Regions from separate parts of the Homo sapiens genome. Here all the other regions are linked to region 2. Evidence: promoter capture Hi-C in 16 types of primary human blood cells and fetal thymus (Javierre and others, 2016). All regions are on one chromosome and are shown on one strand. Each heading gives the region's core, a stretch centred on a gene start or on the middle of the fragment in contact. The rest is flanking DNA. Distances are from core to core; before and after follow the strand shown.

What was found. The method cuts DNA at HindIII sites, captures the fragments that hold promoters and counts their contacts. A CHiCAGO score of 5 or more calls a contact.
Region 1: a fragment that was not itself captured here is called in contact with the fragment with the promoter of PVALB in region 2 in 6 of 17 cell types (endothelial precursors, M1 macrophages, M2 macrophages and 3 more); the score reaches 9.6 in endothelial precursors.
Region 3: a fragment that was not itself captured here is called in contact with the fragment with the promoter of PVALB in region 2 in 1 of 17 cell types (monocytes); the score reaches 5.1 in monocytes.

The regions. Positions count from the first base shown.
Region 1 is chr22:36,540,086-36,542,901 of GRCh38, forward strand. No RefSeq gene overlaps it. Among named protein-coding and RNA genes, the nearest start is that of EIF3D, 12 kb to the left of the region's middle. The HindIII fragment of the contact is 753 bases long and covers 1,139-1,891 here.
Region 2 is chr22:36,815,635-36,818,438 of GRCh38, forward strand. It overlaps PVALB (parvalbumin), which reads right to left and starts at 1,401. Exons shown (of 4, transcript NM_001315532.2): 1 at 1,311-1,401. The coding sequence starts at 1,371. The HindIII fragment of the contact is 33,107 bases long and covers 1-2,804 here.
Region 3 is chr22:37,190,777-37,193,637 of GRCh38, forward strand. It overlaps a transcript of C1QTNF6 not described here. Among named protein-coding and RNA genes, the nearest start is that of C1QTNF6, 4.0 kb to the left of the region's middle. The HindIII fragment of the contact is 3,971 bases long and covers 1-2,861 here.

The DNA.
Region 1 (2,816 bases), core at 265-2,764, 280 kb before region 2:
GACTGAAGAGTGTGGGGTACATCAATGCCAGGCAAAGTTTCTGAAGGAGTCTGGCTCAGAGGGGGAGGCCTGGAATACGATCCTAGTTTACCAAGGGGAACCTGGTCAGTTACCTTGCAACTTTGGAGAAAGAGTGAATGGAAGTGTCCCTCAGTAGGGGACATTTAGGAAGGGGATGGTCACAGAGCCAGGGCTGGCATTGTCCAGGGCACAGGTTCTTGGTTGCGCTGGCTCAAGCATCATCCCCATTCCCCGGGTAAGACTGTCCTCCCAAAACAGAGGTGGCTTCAAGCTGCTCTGTGATAAACACTTTTTTTTTTTTTTTTTTTTGAGATGGAGTCTGGCTGTGTCACCCAGGCTGGAGTGCAGTGGTGCAATCTTGGCTCACTGCAACCTCTGCCTCCCAGGTTCAAGTGATTCTTATGCCTCAGCCTCCCTAGTAGCTGGGATTACAGGTGCCTGCCACCATGCCTGGCTAATTTTTGTATTTTTAGTAGAGATGGGGTTTCACCACGTTGGTCAGGCTGGTCTCGAATTCCTGACCTCATGATCCGCCCGCCTCGGCCTCCCAAAGTGCTGGGATTACAGGCGTGAGCCACCGTGCCTGGCCGATAAATGCTTCTTAATGCTGTTGTTTATTCTGACTCCCTGCCACCAAGCAGTGCTGTGACACCGTGGATCCTCATGGAACTTGTGCTGTAGGGAAGCACGTGCTGGTTAGGCTGATGGAAGTGCTCCATTCTGCTGGTGGGGTATTTACTGTGCTCTCCAATAATAAATGGATCTTCTGCTATGCGTCAGCCTTGTAAGTTTGGTCAAAGGGAGTCTGCCACCGCCTTGTGTGCAGAAAGATCCCGGATATCCTGTGGTGGATTCACCTCATTGGGACCGGTCAGTGTGGCCAACCTCTCTTCCAGAGTGGCAACTTGCGTTTCCTTGCTTATCTTTTAAGAAGCACCATAGGAATCATCACCCCATTTTATAGACGAGAACACTGAGGCTCAGAGAGGAGGAATGTCTTGCCCCAGGTGAGCCAGCTGGTCAGGGTGCATTTGGAATGGAAACCCAGGTGTGGCTGAAACCAAAGCTGGCACTCTCCATGCACAATTCCAAAACCCACAAAGCTCTGAAAATCTAAAGCTTTTTCATGAGATTGGGGCAAGCATTTGATGGCAAACCTGATATGAATTGGATGTGAGGTTATTTATAGTCTTTATTTTGTCCCACTTAGCGTGAATATTTATACATTTTGCTGCAGAAAAATTAAAGGGTTTATGGAATATTGCTCCAGAGCTCACTGGCATGTCACCTGATATGCGGTAGATCCACTCGAAAACCTTTCAGGAATCCAAAGAATTCCAAGTTATAAAGCACATTGAGGCCGGATGTGGTGGCTTCAGACCTGTAATCCCAGCACTTTGGGAGCCCAAGGCGGGCAGCTCACCAGAAGTCAGTAGTTTGAGACCAGCCTGGGTGAAACCTCATCTCTACTAAAATACAAAAATTAGCCAGGCGTGGTGGTGGGTCCCTGTAATCCCAGCTACTGGGGGAGGCTGAGGCATGAGAATCGCTTGAACCCAGGAGGTGGAGGTTACAGTGAGCCAAAATCGGGCCACTGCACTCCAGCCTGGCCGACAGAGTGAAACTGTGTCTCAAAATAAATAAAATATAAAATAAAATACATAAATTGATAAAGCACATTGAGCCGCGAGGATTTCAGATAAGAAATTGTGGAGCTGTGCTACCTGTACCAAACTTTTCTGTCTCGGTTAGGCAGAGATCACTACCCCCATTCTGCAGATGAGGAAGACTGAGGGCAAGGAACATGGTGTCCCAGGTAGGACGGCAGCCATTTTATCATCCTGTTGGAGGCTGTGCCAGCAGGAAAGGAAGCTTTGGAGCCACCAGCCCACCCCAGCCTCCCAAGAACCTTGTTGTCTCAGCAAAATTTCAGAACTAGAAAACCTGGAAAGATTAAAGCCCCAAAGAATGCCACAAGTCCCCCAGGAAGAAAGGGAGGCTTTGCTGTGCGTTCCAGTGGTCGACATTCTAAATCATTTTTTATTTCAGCTGCATGTACACTCACCCATCACAGGACCAGTTCTCAGAATAGAGAGGTACCTGTTGAATCATCCACCCTACTTCCTGCCTCGTGTGGGCATGTCTCCAAGTGCTGAGCCATCCGCTTCGCTGCCGTGGCCTGAGATATATCAGGATTTGCAGGCCTGGCGACAGGAGACAAAATAGATTCCCATTTCCTTCAGAACCATTTAGCTAGTTTAGAGAGTGTTTGACTGTTTCAATGGGATGAGCAATAACCAGGCCTCTCCTTGGCTCCTTCTCTCTGCCCCATATGTTTTCTTCTGTTGGAAGCTGGGATTTGGGGTCTTAGGGCCAAAGATAAATACTGATTTTGGCTCGATCTGGCCGCACAGCTGTGGGCTAGTAGGTGCCCCTCTCTGAACCTCAGGCCCCCACTTTCTGCAGCACAGTGTTGTTCTCATCTCTGTTTTTTTTTTTTTTTTTTTTTTTTGAGATGGAGTCTCTCTCTGTTGCCTAGGCTGGAGTGCAGTGGTGCGATTTCAGCTCACCGCAACCTCCATCTCCTGGGTTCAAGCAATTCTCCCCACCTCAGCCTCCCGAGTAGCTGGGATTGCAGGTGCCTGCCACCAGGCCCAGCGGATTTTTGTGTTTTTTAGTAGAGACAGAGTTTCACCATGTTGGCCAGGCTGGTCTCGAACTCCTGACCTCAGGTGATCCGCCCTCCTCAGCCTCCCAAAATGCTGAGATGACAGGCATGAGCCACCGCATCCGGT
Region 2 (2,804 bases), core at 151-2,650:
TCCTGGGGTTAGGGGGAGGAGGGTTGACCTTCTTTCTTGGCCACAGACTTTGTTGCCAGAAAATTGACATAGAAAGGACAGGTTTCCCTCAAGGTCATACAGTGGGAGGAGGAGGGGCAAACCCGGAAGTCCTGGCTCTGCGCAGAAATCCACTTCGGAGGCAGTGGGAAGGGGGTGTTAGGAGGCTCCCGAGAAACACCCAGTTAAGTTTCTTCCCACATGGGCTTGAGGTGAAGGGAGAGGGTTATCCCAGGACCCTGGGAGGGTGGCTTCCCAGAGAGGTTCTTGTGCCCAGGGGAGGGGGTGCAAAGCAGAAAGGAAATGGGGGTCCTTTTCTACCTGCAATTTTCTGTATCTTGGGGTCCTGTTTTAGAACACCTGGGGAAGGGTACAATGTTAGATCATGTATTTTGTGTGTGTGTGTGTGTGTGTGTGTGTGTAGGGAATGGCTGTTGAAGTCATGTTCTCTTCCCCTCAGCACAGGGCTAGAGACAAGGAAAGTTGCCCTGTCCACCTCCGACACTAGGCTGGGCAACCCAGTTCTAATACCCCTTCTGCCCAGCTAGGTGACCTTGGGCAAATGTCTTGTCCTCTCCAAGACAGTTCCCTGATTTCCCCATCTGGAGGACAGGGGAGGAGGAAGGCGGGCAGCTTAGCGCTGAAGTCCCGGGCAGCTGGGAGAGGTGAGACTGCCAGTTCCCCTCCCCTGCCCGCCTAAGGAGGCTGGAGGTTTGAGGCACTGAGGATGCCCCGTGCGGGCTTAGGCAGAGCTGTGCGCCGGCTCCAGAAGGTCACCTCGCCCGCAGGTCCGTTGCTGAATCTCAGTAAAGGAACTAGGACAGTCAGGGGGCCAACAAAGGCTACCGCCTGGCGGGAAAAGTCCTGTCCAGAATGAGGGTCCAGGAAAGGGGTCTCTTGGAGAGGAGGATGCCCCCTGCAGTCCCCTCTAAGTGCCTTAAAGAGGACGTCCAGAGAGCTCGTACAAGGACCCTGGAGGTCTCTCCTCCGACCCTGGTCTTCGCCCTTGGTCCCGGACCCTGAGTCCTCCCAGCCACCGGGCCTTCAGCACCCTCAAGTTTCTGTAACTTAGGCGGGGCGCCCTCTTCCCCGCCCGCTCCCCGCGCCAAGCCTCGCCCGGACAGAGTTTGGGAACTGCCAAGGACGCCCCCGCCCCGACCTCGCCGGCGCCCAGCGGGAAGTGTGGGCAGAAGCGCGCTGGGGAGGATCCGCCGGCTGCGGGGCCGGCGGAGTGCAGGGGCGCGGGCGGTGGACGAGGGGAGAGGGATGGGGAGGGGAGCGCGCTTGCTCACCGCTAAAGGCTCCCACCGCCTTCTTGATGTCCTCAGCGTTCAGCAAGTCTGTCATCGACATCCTGCAACTGTTTGAGCGGGCAGAGCAAGTGCGAAAAGATTAAAAAGTGCTTTTCTCATCATTTCTGCTCATATGACCAGCGCTGCAGTGCTGCGCGCCGGGCGCACGCCCGCCGGGCCTGGCATGGCGCCAGGGGCCCGGACTCTGAGCGCAGCGGGAGCGGCTCAGTCCAGCCGCGCCGCTGAGCAGCGCCGGCCGCCGGCAAGAAGGCGCGCGGACCTGCTACCACTCCTGCACCGCCAGGCCAGGGGTCCGCGGGATCCCAGGGGCTGCGGCCAGGGCACGAGGGAAGGGGCCACCTCTGGGATTTAGGGGGCACTGGCGTCACCAGCTGGGTCTGGAAAGTCCACCTGCCGTCAAGGACACGCAGGAGGTGCGCCGTCTCAGATCTGGGAACCTTGGCGGATGTCCTGCCGCGTGGGGGAAGATCCTGAACCTTCAGCGGCCAGCCTGCACCTCAGGACCTCCTAGGCCCTGCTCCCTTTCTCTCTCCACTCCTACCTCAGCCTCTGCTCTGGTCTGTCCTGGATGCAAATTTATGCTGCAAAATCTGAGCGCTGAGGTCCTGAAACCTGACCCACCCGACGCAGGGAGGAGGTGGCAGGGACAGGGACAGGGACAGGCAGGAGCTGCTGGGGCCCACTTCGGGTGCCCCATCCCACATCTGGCCAGGGATGCATATTCTAAAACCTGATTTGATGTTTTACTTTTATTTTTTATTTTTTTGCTGGCTTGATTTTTCGAAGAACACTTCTCAGATCTCTACTAACTACTTGCTTTCCTGGTCTCCTGGGTCCTGGCATCATGGGTCCAGACTCCCCCTACTCCTATAAACCTTTTTTGGGCAGAGTAGGGTGGGAGAGTCCGCTTGGAATTGCTATGCTCCCTCCCAGAAAGCCCCATATGTGTTTGGAAGAAGGGTAGCACCTTCAGACCACACTTTCTAGACAACCTAAGCAGGTGTAGGGGTCTGAACTTCACCTCTGGAAAAATGTCACGGTGCCTATCTGTATGCAGCCAGAGACCCGTTGTGTTCTTCCCCATGGTTCCCAAGGTTTCAAGCTGCAACCAGCTGCTTCTAGAGTGTGTGAGCGCTGGACAGGGAGTCAGGAGGCCTGGGTTCTAGATCCTGGGCTGCACTAAGTCCCAGTGTGACCTTGGGTTGTGACCTTCTCTGGGCTTCTGTCTCCTTCTGATGTGTTGATGACGTCAGTGGTCCCATGTAGTGGGACCTGGGGACTGCAACTTAAGGTATTGGCAGGTAGGCAGGGCCTTGGGCTGTGGTGGCCCTGGGTGGTGGGGACCAGGGAGAGCAGCTGTCCAGCTGCCCAGTAACTCAAGTTCCCTGACATCGCTGTCAACATTGTCTCCTGCAGCTCAGCCCTGGATGGCTGCCCTTCCTGGAAACCTTAGGATACCTCTGCTGGCTCCAG
Region 3 (2,861 bases), core at 329-2,828, 380 kb after region 2:
GTTTCCAAATTCTGCAGAAATCAGGTAAAGAGAAAAAAACATATTCCAAATTTTGTTTTTGGACAAAACTTTGTTTTATAATCCTTACCGGAGCGTACTTTACTCAATTGTTAAAAGCTGTAAATAGCTCAAGAAGGGGGGGTTTCTTGACTCTGAAAAACAAAACAGAAAGATCAACAACATTTTAAGCAAAAAGTCATAAAAGATTATTTCAGTCTTTTATTAGTTCAGTCTATGCAATTAATTCCTGTTTTGCTTGATATATATGTGTTAGTTTTCCAAGAGTCTTGGATGATGTTTTCTTTTTCTCTGCATTTAAGAGTACTCATCAGAGTCCTATAGCTGATTATAAACCACCTTTTGAAGAGAATAAAAGCAAGACAACAATTGTCTATGGATGACAGAAAGACTTAGAGCAGTCATGGTTAAAGAATTAATATCATTGACTAGGAAATGTGGATACCTCTGTGGCATATAATAAATTAACATCATAACAATTATAATTATTATTGATAATGTCCATTAGTATTGATAATGTTCATATCAGAATTATAGGAGTTTCCCATAATTTTGGAACACATACCAATAACATATTTATATAAACACAGCCCAAAGAAAGCCAAACACAATTTCATATTTGACAATGCTTCCTGTATTATTTTAATGTACCAAATAAGCCAAATATGTCATTTTTGGACTTTAGGGGACCTAATATCTAAAGGACTAATCAGGTTAGAAAAAGGCATAACTTAGAATTTGATTTTGGAAAGTTTGTCAAATATCAAAAATTTAAAACATTTGATACTACAAAATAGCATCCCAGGTCACCATAAGTCATTTATTTGGCCAAAATGATAACTCAAAGATGTTTTTAAGGGCAAAAACCTTTACTCACCGATAAAGGGAAGACTTAGCTTTCCAAAAAAAACTGTCTCTTTTCGTTCCTTTCTTTTTTCTATAGCTTATTCAAAAGGCAAACAAAAATCTTTAATTATTTTTCAATATTACATGAAAAACTTGTTCAAGAGAGAAAGCCAAATTTTACCTTTGCATTTGTGTACTATTAATGTCAAACCCAATTCATAATAAAGCCTTATAGACAACTCTATCCAATTTTAATGTTTGACCATGAGGTAAGAGTCTCATAAACCTTTTATAGCTCTTTACAATTTTCTTGTTAAAGAGTATACCAGTGCTCTAAGAAAACCTTGTTATACTTTTATTCCATATTTAATTTATGGAAAAACTGAATAATATCCCTTTAATTTAAGCCAATAAGTTCACACAGAATTTCTTTTACAAGATTAATCTTTCACAAACCTTCCATAACTTGCTCAAACCTTCAGCTTTATCCTACCTAACTTGAAACAATCCTTTAACCCTCTAAAGTAGGGGGAAAGTCCACATTCCCATGCTTTCTTATAATCTTCTTACCAAAAGCATATTCAATTTTCCTTACACACCTTGCATATAAAACTGTTTCTCTAGTAGTCTCAATTACATATAACATATTACGATGTTAACTCTTAGCAACTTTTATTTTTTGGTGAAAAACCTGGTAAGTAAGCAGTTTTACTTATATTCCAGGTGTGGAGCCTAGGACAGCCTTATCTGCAGAAGTGCAGATAAGGTCTGACTCTTTCCAGCATAGCTGGGGGCATGGCTAACTCGACAAGTCCCCAGGCCTTATCTAGAATCTAATGGCCCCAAAGCAGGTAAGCTGGGCAATTTTCAAAAGTCAATGATGCAGTTTATGACCTTGAGGCATTTAGCAAACCTAAAATCTGACCTGCCTAATTTAGACCAAATGTCTAAAGTTTGAAGATATTTTAATGTTACTGATAATCTTTAAAACTGTCTCTATTTCCCAAAGATTATTAAAGTCATGTGAACCAAAAGGCATTAATGTTTCTATTTTTCTGACAAAATATTTGATTTAAGTACTTATTATTTTTAAGCCAATTAATCAGAGCTCTTTCATATATCAACATCACACACACAACATATATAAATACACAGACAGAAGATCCAGTAGTTGTAAGATTTTTCATTTGCCAATTTTTAAGTTTCTTAATTGGATTACTGACTTCAGGGTGGAGCCCTTCAAGAAACAGGGCCAGGAAAGCCTGCAGTTTCTAAGGCCTAATAAGCAGGCACAGCTGGAAGGCAAAACAGAACCCCAAAATTAAGGGTTTCATTTTTATATTGGATCCTGGATCCCAAAGAGAGGGAATCAGCCCATCCCCCATGGCAGTCTTATCTTTCAATGGAGGGTGGGGACACTTCCATACTTTCTAGGTGGCCAAGAGCATGCTTTTCTGATCCAAAGGTGCGAAGAGCCAAGTATCCCCACAAAACTGCCATTAGCCATCCCTAAAAGTGTATTCCCCACCTAGTTATTACATAGCAAGGCTAAAAGCTCTCTTAAAATGCAAAGTAATTTCTGATATCCCCAAAAGTCAAAACTGTCAGATAACACAATACAAAACAGAGCAGAGCCTTAGATTTTGAGAGTGGTCTATCTGCTTTCAATTCCTGGGGGTGTCCATGAGGAGAACAGAGGTTTCTCCCAAAACAGGGTCTGTAGCACCTCCTTTTTTCCTGAGAAGTCCCAGGCTATTAAAATTTATCTTAGGTCCTCTCAGGTGGGGCATCAAGAGTGGCAAGAAGACAAAATGGGGAAAAAAATTAAGTCGACTGAAAAGAAAAAATTTTTCAGAAAAATAAGAGCCAAGAAGAGAAAAAAAAGCATAAAGGCCTTTTAAATATATGTATAGCTTGGATATCCATTTTTAATTAAGCTGACTTTTAACCAAATCTTGTTACCAGACTCTAGCCGGGACAAACAGCCAATATTTCTG